Regions from separate parts of the Homo sapiens genome. Here region 1 is linked to region 2. Evidence: promoter capture Hi-C in human tissues and cell types (Jung and others, 2019). All regions are on one chromosome and are shown on one strand. Each heading gives the region's core, a stretch centred on a gene start or on the middle of the fragment in contact. The rest is flanking DNA. Distances are from core to core; before and after follow the strand shown.

Region 1 (7,915 bases), core at 3,965-6,464, 540 kb after region 2:
AGTTGACTAAAAAAGGACATGAGATAATATTTTGGGTGATGGAAATTTTCAATATCTTGATGGTGCATTTGTCAAAACTCACTGAATTCTACACTCGAAAGCATACATTTTACTGGATGTAACTTATATTTCAGTAAAATATACTGGGAAAGTCCATTTGTTAAATCAATCAATCCTACAATCAGTAAGTTAAGAAATACTGATGTGTCACTCTCAGGTATATGATTGATATTTTGGCAGTAATATTATAGTGAAAAATCAATATGATAAAATGTGTGACAACATCTCAATTTATATGAATTTCAGATTATGTTACTTTTAATTATCTTCCTACAGTAAAGTATATCTGGTGCAAATATATAAGGGGACAAGAGAAACTTGGATGGTAAATTGCCCAAATAAGAAAATGGGTTTTTGTGTTGGCTTTAAATCATGGATACACATAGCAGAAAACTCAGTAATGAGGACTTTATCTAAAAGGCAATCCATAGCTCTGCTAGAGTAATTCTGAGTCCTTCTGTTGCCTGTGCTGGGTAAGAGGGGAAGGTCTATTTCTCATGAGAGAACCTCAATGTTTAACATGTGAATACAGTGACAGGCAGTCTGGAAAGTACATACATGCATCTATTAAATATATCAAATATTGGTCTCTGTGACCTTCAAGAGATGATATTAAGAAAAAAAATCCAAAAAAGTTGTAAAAGAAGAGAACACTCTTCGCTCCTGTACACTCCCAGAGCAGTCATGCCGGGAGCTTTGCTTCAAGCAACACACTTACTCACAAAGCACAGGCAAGTTTAATTGCTCCCCTCAGGCACTAGAGATCTGAAGGCTTCAAATTTCCCTTTCCTATTTAAAATAAAAATCTGAGCATTTTCTATTTTATAAAATAATGAATAATTAAATGTTGACATTTATCTTCCATTGACCTTTCTGAAGCACCAACAGATAGACACCTCCCTCTGCCTTTCTCACTCTCTGGTGTTCCAGGTTTTCCAAACAGTGTTCTTGCTTGGGGTGTTCCGTGAAGTGGACAGGATACAACTGCATACAAATAGCAGTTTTTTAATGCTTTTGTTTTTTTTAGCATGAAATCAAGCTTAAATCAACAAATTATAATCTGACAAAACTTTTAAAATAATCTTTGTGGTACATAATATTAAAAGTGTAAAAATTTTTGTCATAGTAAACATATGTGGCTCAAAAGATAGGTATGGTAACGAGAAGGCATGAACATAATCTCTATTTTTGGGTTGCAATTTTTGAAACAGGGTCTTGCTCTGCCACCCAGGTTGGAGTGCAGTGGTACGATTATGACGCACTGCAGCCTCGACCTCCTGGTCTCAAGTGAGCCTCCCACCTCAGCCCCAGAGTAGCTGGAACTACAGGCATGCACCACCATGCCTAGATAATTTTATTTAAATTGTATTTCCCAGGATTAAAATCTCTATTTTTATTAGCCATCTCTGAATAAAACATCCTTTGCTGTCACCCAATTCCCTTTGTTTTGGACACCATGATCATAAGTAACTGTATTCGTATGAAGCTTTTCCAGATATAATACAAAATAAAACATGGATTTTTACACCATCTCTAGTGGGTTTCATTAGCAAGTGCCACTTCCTAAGGGCATGAGCTCCTCTTAGAACACTGACACAATTCCATTTCTGGATGAAAAATTCTGAAGGACGTACCATGGTTTCTGGAGACAGCACCAAACACTGCAGCCATAAATGGCCTTGCCAGAGCAGCAACAAGTCCCCCATAGTAACCCATTCTCTTTGGAAGTGCAATGGTATTCTTGCTTTCTTCACTATAAATATACATCTGTACTGTCAAATCTCATGCAACAATAGTATATTTTTATTGCTTTCAACAAAAATGTAATGACAAAAAAACTATAGGAAGGAATTTTTGGCTTTCAGATATAAATATGGATGGTGCATATAAACACTTCATTTGAAAGAGAAAAAAAGCAAAACCTCTAAAATCAATAAAACCTTTTGCAAAATTTTTGCATTTTTCTTAAATTGATGTGAAATTCTCATGCAACAGTACAGAGACTTTAAGAGTACCATGCAATGATTGTACGTACACTCTTGTAACCATCTGACAATAAAGATATAAACCATTTTGTTCATTCCAGAAGATTCTCTCATGCCCACCTTCTAGTCAGTTTCTCTACTCCATACATAGAGGTCATTACTGTTCTAGTTTTTTTCTCCATAGCTTAGCTGTGTGTATCCCAGAACTTCATACATATAGATTTTATAAGCATGTTCTCTTTTGTATTGGATTCTTTTGCTCTAATGTTTCCAGTCATCATCCACGTTGTTGGGTGCATCAATAGGTCATTGTTTTATTGCTAAGTAACCTACACCAAAGTTAGTTTATTCATTAAAATATTGATGGACATTTGAGTTATTTCTAGTTCATGATCATTTAAATAAAGTTTCTCTTTGTGGGCATATGTTTTCATTTTTCATGGGTAAATGCTAAGATTGGAATTACTGGATATGTGTATGTTTCACGATATCTCATTGTGGTTTTACACTATGAGTAATGAAGTCTTTTCAGAATTTCTCTTGTGCAGTGTCTGTTCAAGTATTTGATTGTTGATTATATTGAGTTGTGTCTTCTTATTTATTTTTAGAAGTTAATGATAAATCCTGACTACAATATGTATGTACATATATACATACACACACACACACACACACATATATATATATGAAAAGGCAATTCATGGAATGGAAGAATATATTTACCATATATTGTGTGTCTTGAAGAGCTGAAATTTTAAATTTTGATAAAGTCTTTTATGGTTAGTGCTTTTTATATTCTAAGAAAATTTTGCTTACCTGTGTTCATAAAATTTCTGCTGTGCTCTCTTCTAACTGCAATCTCCACCTCATGGGTTCGAGCGTTTCTCCTGCCTCAACCTCCCGAGTAGCTGGGATTACAGGTGCGCACTACTACACCCAGCTAATTTTTGTATTTTTAGTAGAGACAGGGTTTCACCATGTTGGCCAGGATGGTCTCGATCTCCTGACCTCATGATCTGCCCGCCTTGGCCTCCCAAAGTGCTGGGATTACAGGCGTAAGCCACCATGCCTGGCCAAGGCTTCATATTTTTAACCTTCAGTGTTTGGTCTGTGATCAATGTCTAGTTATTTTTTGTGCATGATAGGAGATAAGGGTCAATACTTATTTTGTCCTATATGGTTATCAAGGTGTTCCAATGCTATTTATTGAAAAAGCTATAGTTTGCCCCTGGAACTACCTTGACATTTTTGTCAAAATCAATTGATCATAAATATGAGAGCCTATCATTGAATTCATCTCTTTCATTGACACACTTATTATCATTGTGCCAACTCCATATTGCTGCTAACTGTAATATAACTTACATGTGAAAAAAATCTTGAAATTATATTTTGAATTTTCATTCAAATTTGAGGCATGAAATTGCCCTAGTTTTATAGAAAGAAGTGTAAAGATGCATCTGTATTTTGAGTCCCATGCATGATCTGTATATCCGACAAATAATGGAAGGAAAGAAGAGAGTAAAAACAGTGAATATGAGGGGCTCACAGGACCAAGAGGAAATACAAACTAGCTACCTCTTTCCTAATGCTAGTGAGTCACTAAAGCATTAGTCAATTAATTGTCTTGATATAAGTCATCAATAGTCTTCAGAAAACTTCTCTGGGGAGCAGCTTTTATATTTTAATGCAGAAACCAAAAGTGGAAATCAAAATTAGGTGAGGACAATAGTGTTTTCTCATAATATGTAGTATATAACAAATGTAACATAAACTTTTTGATATGAAGAAGATTTTCATTTACCATTGTAAAAAATTTGTGATATCTTCATAGTTTCCATCTTTTTAGGTTGTTTTCCTTGTGACTCAAATGAGGAAGAATAAACTTGGTTTAGGACTATTCAATGCCAGTGTTTTCAGATGGTGAGTAATTGTAATTATCAAGGACTCTGGAGTCCTGGTTTAAGGGGATATTGAGTGAACTTCTGAGTGAGAATCATGAACCTTTTCAGCATTTTGGTTTTAAAATATTACAAGTAAATGCCTTTTCTTGAGAAAGCATTCCGCAGAAGGTATTTATGTATTTTTTCCAGGTGAATTAAGCTCTAGTTTGAATGACTATGAGCCTGCCTCTGCTAGACATCAATTCCTACTTCATAGTTCTTCTCTTTTTGTTCTTTTGTGGTTTATTTAATTTTTTAAACTTTATTTTTAATGATAAATAATAATGAGCTATATTTATGGGGTATAATGTGATGATTAGATATGGGTTTACAATGTGGAAAGATTAAATCTGGCTAATTAACAAATTAATCACTTCACAAACATTACTTTTTTATAGTGAAAACATTTAAAGTCTACTCTTTCAGCAATTTTGAAATATGCAGCATATTATTATTTATAGTAATCACCATTCTGTAAAATAGATCACCAAAGCTTATTCCTCCTCACTAACTGAAACTTTGTACCCTTTAATAAACATCTTCCCCTTCCTCATTGATTCTTCTCCCCCAGCCTCTGGTAACCATCATTATACTCCCTATTTGTGTGAGTTCAACTTTTTTAGATTTCACATATGAGAAAGATCATGCAGTATTTGTCTTTCTGTGCCTGGCCTATTTCACCTCCGGGTTCATCTATGTTATCCCAAAAGACAGGGTTTTCCCCCTTTCCAATGCTAACTAGTATTCCATTGTGTATATATGCTACATTTTCTTTATCCATTCATTTGATGATAGACACCTAGGTTGCATCCATATCTTAGCTATTGTGAATAACATTGCAATGACCACAGGAGTTCAGTTATCTCTTTGGCATACTGATTTGATGTATATTCCTTTGGATAAACACCCAGTAGCAGGATTACTGGATTGTGCAGTAATTCTATTTGTAGTTGGCTGAGGAGCCTTCATCCTATGGCTTTGTTCATTTACATTCCCACCGACAGTATACAAGGGTTCCCTTTTCTCCATACCATTGCCAACCCTTGTTACATTTCATTTTTTAATTAATGCCCATTCTAACAGATGTGGTTTTAACTTGCTTTTCCCTGATGGTCAATGATAATGAGCATTTTTTTATACCTCTGGCTTTTTTTGTTTTATGAATGCACTTTTTTTTGATATTTATTTATTTTCTTTATTTTTGCATGTTTTGGGGTACAGGTGGTATTTGGTTACATGAGTAAGTTCTTTAGTGGTGATTTGTGAGATTTTGGTGCACCCATCACCCAAGCAGTATACACTGCACCATATTATTTAGTCTTTTATCCATCGCCCCCCCCACCCTTCTCCCCAAGTCCCCAAAGTCCATTGTATCATTCTTATGCCTTTGCGTCCTCATAGCTCAACACCCACACATCAGTGAGAACAAACAATGTTTGGTTTTCCATTCCTGAGTTACTTCACTTAGAATAATAGTATCCAATCTTATCCGGGTCGATGCAAATGCTGTTAATTCATTCCTTTTTATGGCTGATTAGTATTCCAATATATAAATATAACACAGTTTCTTTATCCACTCGTCGATTAATGGGCATTTGGGTTGGTTCCACAATTTTGCAATTGTGAATTGTGCTGCTATAAACATGCTTCTGCAAGTATCTTTTTTATATAATGACTTCTTTTTCTCTGGGTAGATACCCAGTAGTGGGATGGCTGGATCAAATGGTAGTTCTACTTTTAGCACTTTAAGGAATCTCCACACTGTTTTCCTTAGTGGTTGTACTAGTTTACATTCCCACCAGCAGTGTAGAAGTGTTCCCTGTTCACCACATCCATGCCAACATCTACTGTTTTTTGATTTTTTGATTTTGGCCGTTCTTGCAGGAGTGAGATGGTATCACATTGTGGTTTTGATTTGCATCTCCCTAATCATTAGTGATGTTGATTATTTTTCCATATGTTTGTTGGCCATTTGTATATCTTCTTTTGAGAATTGTCTATTCATGTCCTTAGCCCACTTTTTGATGGGATTGTTTGTTTTTTTCTTACTGATTTGTTTAAGTTCATTGTAGATTCTGGATATTAGTCATTTGTCAGACGTACAGATTGTGAAGATTTTCTCCCACTCTGTAGATCTGTTTCCTCTGCTGACTGTTCTTTTTGCTGTGCAAAAGCTCTTTAGTTTAATTAAGTCCCAACTATTTATCTTTGTTTTTATTGCATTTGCTTTTGGGTTCTTGGTCATGAAGTCCTTGCCTAAGCCAATGTCTAGAAGGGTTTTTCCAATGTTATCTTCTAGAACTTTTACAGTTTTAGGTCTTAGGTTTAAGTCCTTAATCCATCTTGAGTTGATTTTTGTATAAGGTTAGAGATGGGGATCCAGTTTCATTCTCCTACAGTGTCTTGCCAATTATCCCAGCACCATTTGTTGAATAGGGTGTCCTTTCCCCACTTCATGTTTTTGTTTGCTTTGTCAAAGATCACTTGGCTGTAAGTATTTGGCTTTATTTCTATGTTCTCTATTCTGCTCCATTGGTCTATATGCCTATTTTTATACCAATACCATGCTGTTTTGGTGACAAAGGCCTTATAGTATAGTTTGAAATCAGGTAGTGTGATGCCTCCAGATTTCTTTTTGCTTAGTATTGCCTTGGCTATTTGGGGTTTTTTTTTTTGGTTTCATATGAATTTAACAATTTTTTTTTCTAATTCTGTGAAAAATGATGGCTGTATTTTGATGGGGATTGCACTGAACTTATATACTGCTTTTGGCAGTATGGTCATTTTCACAATATTGATTCCACCCATCTATGAGCATGGGATGTGTTTCCATTTGTTTGTGTCATCTATGATTTCTTTCAGCAGTGTTTTGTAGTTTTCCTTGTAGAGGTCTTTAGCCTTGTTGGTTAGGTATATTCCTAAATATTTTATTAATTTTTTTTTTGCAGCTATTGTAAAAGGGGTTGAGTTCTTGATTTGATTCTCCATTTGGTCACTGCTGGTGTATAGAATAGCTACTAATTTGTGTACATTAATCTTGTATTTAGAAACTGCTGAATTTTTTAATCAGTTCTAGGAGTTTTCTGGAGGAGTCCTTGGGGTTTTCAAGGTAAACGATCATATCGTCAGCAAACAGTGACAGTTTGACTTCCTCTTCACTGATTTGGATGCCCTTATTTCTTTCTCTTGTCCAATTGCTCTGGCTAGGACTTCCAGTACTATGTTGAATAAGAGTGGTGAGAATGGGCATCCTTGTCTTGTTCCCAGTTCTCAGAGGGAATGCTTTCGACTTTTCCCTATTCGGTATTATGTTGGCTGTGGGTTTGTCGTAGATGGCTTTTATTACATTGAGGTGTGTCCCTTGTATGCTGATTTTGCTGACAGATTTAATCATAAAGGATGCTGGATTTTGTTGAATGCTTTTTCTGCATCTATTGAGATGATCATGTGATTTTTATTTTTAATTATGTTTATGTGGTGTATTACATTTATTGACTTGTGTATGTTAAACCATCCCTGCATCCCTGGTATGAAACCCACTTCCCACTTGATCAGAGTGGATTATCTTTCTGATATGTTGTTGTATTTGGTTAGCTAGTATTTTATTAAGGATTTTAGCATCTAGGTTCATCAAGAATATTGGTCTGTAGTTTTCTTTTTTGGTTATGTCCTTTCCTGGTTTTGGTTTTTGGGTGATGCTGGCTTCATAGAAATAATTAGGGAGGGTTCTTTCTTTCCCTATCTTGTGGAATAGCGTCAAAAGGATTGGTACCAATTCTTCTTTGAATGTCTGGTAGAATTCTGCTGTGAATCTGTCTGGTACTGGACTTTTTTTGTTGGTAATTTTTAAGTTACGATTTCAATCTCCCTGCTTGTTATTGATCCGTTCAGGAGTACCTAATTCTTCCTAATTTAAACTAGGAGGGT
Region 2 (7,427 bases), core at 4,739-7,238:
GGAAGTTATCAGAAAATTGATATGGTCCAAGTTGATATCACAATGGCACTAAGGAACTGGAGTCCAGTTGACAGATGTCACTCATGTAATTAGTAACAAGGGTTGCTCTGAGTCAGTACCAATAGCCAGCATTAAAGGGCTTCCTTGGCTGCAGAGTAGTAGGACATGGAAACAGTTGTAAGTTGGGGAGGTTCAGAGCCCTGGTGAGTGTCATGGAAGGGAACATCCTACCGGTCCCCTGAGGGCCTGTTTCTCCACTGTAGGGTTCACAAAGCTGAAGGTGAAGATGCTGAAGCGCTGGTGGTGAGAGGGAAATGGAAGATCCAAGGCTTTCTGGACAGGGATCAGCTGGGTCTGATAGTTGTCTCCAATGTAGGGGCAGCTAGACCAAGAGACCCAGCAGTCAGGATGGGCTTCTTTGAGAATTTCAGCACAGGTGTATGAAAGAACCACTTACCCCTTTACCAGGATGGGCCACTGTGGCTGACTCAGGGGGTCAGTGCTGGGTGTTGCCCAACACTGTTGTAGGAGCAGCCCCAGGTAGGGGTCTGTTCTGTGAAGGATGGAGACCTCCACGTAAATGGGATCCCGAAGCAACTTCACCACTGGGTAGTCACCAACACCGTAGTAAGAGCCATAGTTTTTATCTGCAAGAGGCAGAAATAAGGATTTGAAGTAGTAATCTCTCAGTGACTTGAGGGACTGTCACCCCTTTAAATAGCCCCAAGCCCCTTAAGTGTCTTGTTACTAACTTAGGGTCTTCATGCCCCAGAAGACTGGATTTAGACTATAGGCCAGATACTCCAGCCAAGGGGGTCATACCTTTGGCAATCTGAAGTTCCAGAGTGAGGGGTCCAGGCTGGGTCTCAGGAAAGGGTGGTGGGAGAGTGAAAACCTGGACATTGATTGGGAGAGAGTTGCTACTTACTGAGTAGCTGCAGCTGACATGGAGCCTGCAGAGAAACAAGATTTTAGCTAGTTGGTTGTGGGAAGTGGGTGTCAGTTACACATCCTTTCTTTTTAACTCAAGGAAAGCATTAAGTGCTAGACAAGTTTATAAGTGTGATGGATGTGGTTCCTGCCCTGCTGGGAGCTGTATTTTAGTTGGGGAGACCAATATACAAGTAGGACCAATGTTTGAGTTGGAGATAAGCACACAGAAATAAAGATGCATCATGAGAAACAGATGCTTGCCATAGAGAAGATCAGGGAAGACCTTAGAGGTACCCTTGATATGAAGGTGAAAGAAAAACTTGAGGTACAGGGAAAGCGTCACCCAATATAGAGCAAAGCCTGGAGGCAAGGAAGTGCTTGAGGCCCTTTGAGAATTCCATAGAAGAACCAGGCTGCAATCGGGGAATAGTGAGTAAGGGACTGAGAATGTTAGAAGTGAACAGGCTGGAGATGAAGTAGGAGCTGTTTTATGCAGGGTCCTGATGTTCATCTTAAAGATTTTTTTTTTTTGTCCATGGCTTTAAGGTGTGTGATTTGACTGACTTAAGGTTTTAAAGGAATTCTTTTGGCTACAGCATGGACAGTGGAGAAGGCCAGATGTAGAATGGAGAAATGTAGGCTGAAATGTAGAATGGAGAAGGCCAAAATGAGAAAAAAATCTAGTTAAGTGAAATAGCAGAACTCCAGGTGAGCTTGAGGCTTAGGTCGGGTTGGAGACAGCAACACAGATGGACCTAATCAAGTAATGGGCAGTGCAATTGGTGAACCAAGGTAGCAGACAGGTTTTCTCCTATTGCTGAGGAATGCTCATTTGTGGATTCAGGGCTTACCTGAGAATGCCCACCTTATGGCAGATGGGAAGTCATTCTGGCCAAGCCCTTACCTGAAGATGCTGTCACGAGTGACAGAGCCACGGCTCCCATTTTTCACATCCCTAGTTGCCACCAGTTCATTTTCATATACTGCTCGGTCTCCAGTGATCTACAGGAATAGATGGAGAAGTCTTGATCATTTCTGTTAGTGTTATGCTGCTTGACTTGCATCTGGTCTAAGCCCTCAGCAATGCTACCCTGTTGTATGGTATATTTCCTATTACTTCAGCAGAGGTAAGAACACATAGCAGTGACATCCTGGCAAGTTATCACTTCGCCTTATCTCAGGACAAAGGAATAAGAAGGAATTTGAGCACCTAGGAGAGGCAGCTGAAGCACTACCAATTCCAGTCAGCATCCCTGCTGGTTTCTTCTCTATAGCACGGTAAATGACAGCCCCTTAGCTAGATCACAGCTGTGATGGTCTTAGCTGAACACCCAGAAGAGATTAACTTTTTCAGTGATGAGGCATTCTCCTGCCCTAGGGACTCTCCCAAACTCCAAGTAGTAGTCACAAGTATCGTTCACGGCCAACATATTTCAGCTCTCCCCCACTAGTCACTACAACCTTCCCACCCAACTTCCAGAGCCAGGAACAAAGCCCAACTGCTCACCTGTCTTGTGGTGCCACAGGAAGTAAATGGAAACTGGAACAGAACAAAAGCTTGTGTTGCCATCACAGGGTTACACGCACTGTCATTCCTAAGGGCCAAGCGCACAGAATCCAAGAGCAGTGGTGGCGAGGTCACGTTCCGAGACACAGCAATAGAGAAATGGCCCTCTCGGGTACAATGCAAGGTCACTGAAACAGAGCAGCTGTGCTGAAGGCAGGTCATCTCTCCCATTGTGGGGAGAACCAGATGAAAGTCTAACCACTTAGTTACTTTTAATCCCACTGAGAAGCTGGTGACAACTTCCCAGTGACAACCTCAGTGCAAGATCAACCAACCACAGTTTAACCCAGGCTCTAAATGATCTGGGGTTGAGTCTTGCCTCCCTGACTTATTGTGTGACCTCAGGCAAGTATTGCACCTCCTTGCTTCAGTTTCATGTGTTAAGAGGGGGATAGTAGTTCCTACCTCATTTTGCTTGTCAGTTAAGATTAAGATCTTGGAATAGCGTGTGCGATTATTAGGTTGGTAGAGAAGTAATTGCAGCCTTTGCCACAATGGCAAAAGCCGGGATTCCTCCTGTACCAACCTATACATACTCTGAGGTCAAGTTTATGTTAGAAAACCTCAGAGCAGGATTAGAGACAAGCAGAAAGCAACAGCCTTGAAGTGACTCTCCCTAAACAATCCAAGACCATCAGCCAAAGTCGCTATAAGTTTCTGTCAGTTAGAAGTTATCTGGCACTAGCAATTATCTGGCACATAGCCTTCAAGTCTGAGCGTTATTGACTTTATATCTGGATTCTGGGAGAATGGACAGTGGGAGTTGTAGAAGTCTGTTACATTGGGATCAAGTGTTCTTGGATGCATGGCTACATGGCAGCCTGCTATCACTTGATGTTTGCCTTCTGAGCAAACCCCTCTCTGGGTTTCATTGTAATTGCCACACTTCCTCAGCTGGTTTCAGAGGTGTGCTCACTTACTCACCAGTGTTTCCATAGTAGCAGGAATTCACCTCTTCAGAGCTATAACAACAGCCTAGCCCTTCACAGTCTCCTCGAGAGATGGGTGAAGGTGCACATGGCAGTCTGTCCCGTGCTGGGATGGAGTCACACCAGTCAGTATCTGGAGCATCTCGGGCTAGGTTTTGAAAAAGAGTAAGTCAGGTTAGATAATGGAAAAGTTAGTCTTGAATACCATTTTGATACAAGTCATTGACTTTGGATTCCTGTAGATATGTAGATGATTGAAATAGGTGTCTACTCCATATTGTAGATAGTATTGAGAGGTTACATGTTGTAGATTAAGTCTTGGGAGGTTGTCAACATTAAGTCACCTTGTAAGAGTGCCCTGCTATTAGTTTTTTAAAAACAAGAATGTCAACAAAATTGGTAGAAGCAGTTGGGGGGTTTCTTACTCCTTCCAGTAACAATCCTTCCTTCTGTTCTTTAGAGGCGTTTCTCAAGCCTTAGTTTGGATATGAGTTATCTGAAGATTGTTTTTGAGTTCAGGTCTGGTTCAGAACTGGGGTGGGGCCTATGATTCCTCATTTTATTAGTGCTGCCCATCCTGGCTATGTATTGGGAAGGAAGGCAGGTGAGAAGAGTGAATTTATAGTTTGAGTCTGTTCTGACTTTGAGGACGGGCTCTCAGTCAGGCGAGACTTTCTAAAGTTGAGTAGGCATCATACTTCCTGCTGTTTCCTTAGGGAAATGCTCAGATACCCCTCCAGCTTGTGGGATGGAAGACCTGGGTCCTAGTCTCAGTGCACATCTAGCTCTGTGGAGGTATTTTTCCAAGTTCCCTTGCTAGCTTCAGTTTTATTTCCTATCATTCTCCCCATGGGTGAAAAGCTCCTGGTTCTGGGAGAGTTCTTTGAATCCCAGCTCAGTCATTCACCAGTGATAGGCCCTTGGGAAAACTTCCTGGCAAGAGATAGGTTGTATTTTTTTTTTTTTTTTTTTTGAGACAGGGTTTCGCTCTTGTTGCCCAGGCTGTAGTGCAAGGGCACGATCTCAGCTCACCACAACCTCAGCCTCCCAGGTTCAAGCGATTCTCCTGCCTCAGCCTCCCGAGTAGCTGGGATTACAGGCATGTACCACCACACCCGGCTGATTGTGTGTTTTTAGTAGAGATGGGGTTTCTCCATGTTGGTCAGGCTGGACTCCAACTCCCGACCTGATCCACCTGCCTCAGCCTCCCAAAGTGCTGTGATTACAGGTGTGAGCCACTGTGCCTGGCCAGCAGTAGTATTTGCAGCACTATGTTAGGGTTAGGGAAGGTAACACCTGAAGTGCTTACCCACAGTGCCTTGGCATTGAGGAGTCTCAATTGGTAGTTATCCTAAGGATTGCCCATGGAGGTGAGAGTTGGGACATGATCCTTCCTTCATTAGTGTCAGGTGTCACTGCACAGAGCAGGTCAGAGAGGACCAAGAGTACTTTCACACCCCACCCCCACCACCCCCACAAGACCCTGAGAGCTTCCAGCCTTTACCTAGAAGATCCATAGGACACTTGAGCAGCTTCCTCTCTGTAACCACCTTGTGTTCAGCCGCGCCTGCTCCTTCAACTCCAACTGGCATGATGTAGTGGGAGTCCTGGAGAGACAGGCCCTTGGGGGTCAGCCTGGATGGTAGCATGAGGCGCTTCACACAGTCTCCCTGGCCATTGGGTCATACTCACCCACTCAGTGACATAGCAGCTGCTATAGGTTGCCTCCAACACCACGGAGCTGCCTGGACCTTTTCTTATCCAGGTGCCACAGTCGGAGTCATTCTGCAGCTCGTGCAGCAGCCCTTGGTTGTCTGGAGGGGTGGGGAAGAGGTGAGAAAACACAGCGGTCAGTCTCCAGTGCCAGAAAGGATAGTCAGCCTTGCCATTAGACCCCAAGGAGCAACTGTCAATAAGAGGAACAAGAGGGAAATCAGATTCAGATCAGATGTAGTTATAACTTAGACTATTTCTTTTGCAGAAAGATGCAACAGGGCTCAGAAGGTGAAAGTATCAATACGGGAAGATAGGGAGACATCTTAGGTAGTAGAGGAGACATATCATTGCTTGGCTAAGCAAGGCAAGTCATCAAACTTACCCCAAGCTATTAGTACAGGAGGAGACGTTGCCTCCTGGTTGAGGTTTACAGCAAACTGGAAGCTCCACGGCCCACAGTGGAGCACACTGGAATAATCTGGTGCCTCAGGCTTATGCTGGCCACTCACAGCAAGAGATAATGAAACACACAGCAAAACGCACCGCAGCAGCCACATAATGCTACCAGGAGTTCCTGCCGGCTGCAGACTCTCCGCCTCCTCTCCCAAGAGCCGAGGGTCTGCCTGCCCAGATTCCTTTATATACAGAAGTCAGGCTTGTTTTCAGCTGCACATCTTTGTGACACTCAGGTGGGATGCCTTCAGAAAGGGGAATTCCTCTAGCCTCATTTGCTTTGGGGCACAGTCTGCAGCTGCCTCACATTAAATACCACAATCCAGGCAGACTTCAGAGCCCAAGAAAAATGTAGTAACTTTTAGCTAACAGAAAGGAAGGAAAGAAAGCTTCCTCAGGGTTGCTCAACATAGCATTTGTCCCACCAGTTTATTGAACTTATTGACTTCAGAAGACCTCCCTCTAGAATTTTGCACATTTGGGTGTGAAACTACCATCTATGAACTATGGGGTCTGGGTACGTTACAAACTCTCTGAATCTTGGTTTTCTCATCTGTAAAATGGGAATGCTATCTCCTGGCAGTGGTGTGCTTGAGGATTAAGCAAGAGATTCTATGTCAGGTGCCTGGCACAGTGCTTGGCCAAGCAGTGAGTGCTCAGTCAACATTGTCGGGTGAGAGTTGGGGCCCTTGAGAAGCCTTGTCACCTTCTCCATCCATTCTAGAAAAGTTTCTGTACGATTAGAGCCTGTCTTGAAATTCTAGAAAAAAATCTAAACTTATTTCCTGAGAAAGGTTGATTTTGAACCCTTTCCTGGTCCTTAGAGGGAATCCTACCACAGCAATCTTTCAACAAATTCCAAAGTGGTTCATTGCCATAACTGTCCTACAGTGTTTCCCCACAGGATCTGGGGGAAATGTGGATTAGGCCATGAATTCCTCAAACTGGTTCTGCCTCTTACAGCTATTTGACAATTTTATCTTTCGGCTGTGTTTCAGGCATATTTCATAAAGATGTCAGGGTTTCTTGCTTGCTTTCTACATTTTTGTTTTCCACATAAACTACAAGTTATATACTTTGGTCACTCTTTAAGCTAGAGTGTCAGACCAGATTGTAGAGAAATTCTAAGAGATTTGGGGATAAATGGATACATTCCCCACTGGAGAGGCAAGAGCATGGAAACTTGTCTTCTGCAGTCTGCCACCAATATTCCCAAATTGTACCCTGATTGTATTTAGACTGATATTTTTCGGTTGACTAAAAATTGTAGTCAAAGCACTGAGAATGTGTAACTAGGTATCTCTAGTTCTCTTCAACTCATCACAGAGGACAAATAAGTATGTGTCTTCCTGGGAAAATTGGTGGCCCTTTTAACCACATGATGAAAAATGACATTGAAGGAAAGCTGGACTCTGCCCTCAAAGACAGATGTGGCTTCCCTGACACCGTCTACCTGGATTAGGTGCTCACCACTGGGTTATTACATGCCATTTACTCACAGGATTTGCCAGGTTGGATTGTAATGACCTCTTTCTTATTCAGTTTGCCACTAGAAGCACGTGAGGCCAGGGACTTTTTTATTTGTCACTGCATCCTGCGTGCCTTGGATGTATGTACTCAGTGTTCTCTGAGTAAAGACTGAATCAATGAATATGCTTTCATTAGTGGCCATGTCCTAGGGCTAACCCCCTTGAAAATGTAGTTTCCAAACCTCACCGGTACAAATTCATTTCCTTTATGATGAGCTCAAACTCATAACCCTTAGGTATTTTTCCTTCAAGTAAATATCATGTGATTGCACATGTAAGAAAGAATCTGAGGATTTGACT

Evidence for each region. Contacts are between HindIII fragments. The study calls those that stand out against the background at their distance.
Region 1: a contact is called between a fragment that was not itself captured here and the fragment with the promoter of ZP4 in region 2, in 1 of the 25 tissues and cell types used here (hippocampus).

Annotation. Positions count from the first base shown.
Region 1 is chr1:238,421,544-238,429,458 of GRCh38, forward strand. It overlaps LOC105373220 (a long non-coding RNA gene), which reads left to right. Exons shown (of 5, transcript XR_949308.3): 4 at 3,895-3,968. Among named protein-coding and RNA genes, the nearest start is that of LINC01139, 61 kb to the right of the region's middle. The HindIII fragment of the contact is 4,403 bases long and covers 3,014-7,416 here.
Region 2 is chr1:237,884,934-237,892,360 of GRCh38, forward strand. It overlaps ZP4 (zona pellucida glycoprotein 4), which reads right to left and starts at 5,989. Exons shown (of 12, transcript NM_021186.5): 1 at 5,528-5,989; 2 at 5,122-5,243; 3 at 4,934-5,036; 4 at 3,425-3,577; 5 at 2,441-2,628; 6 at 1,838-1,935; 7 at 823-953; 8 at 458-647; 9 at 232-382. The coding sequence starts at 5,702. It also overlaps the pseudogene LOC100130331. The HindIII fragment of the contact is 12,268 bases long and covers 914-7,427 here.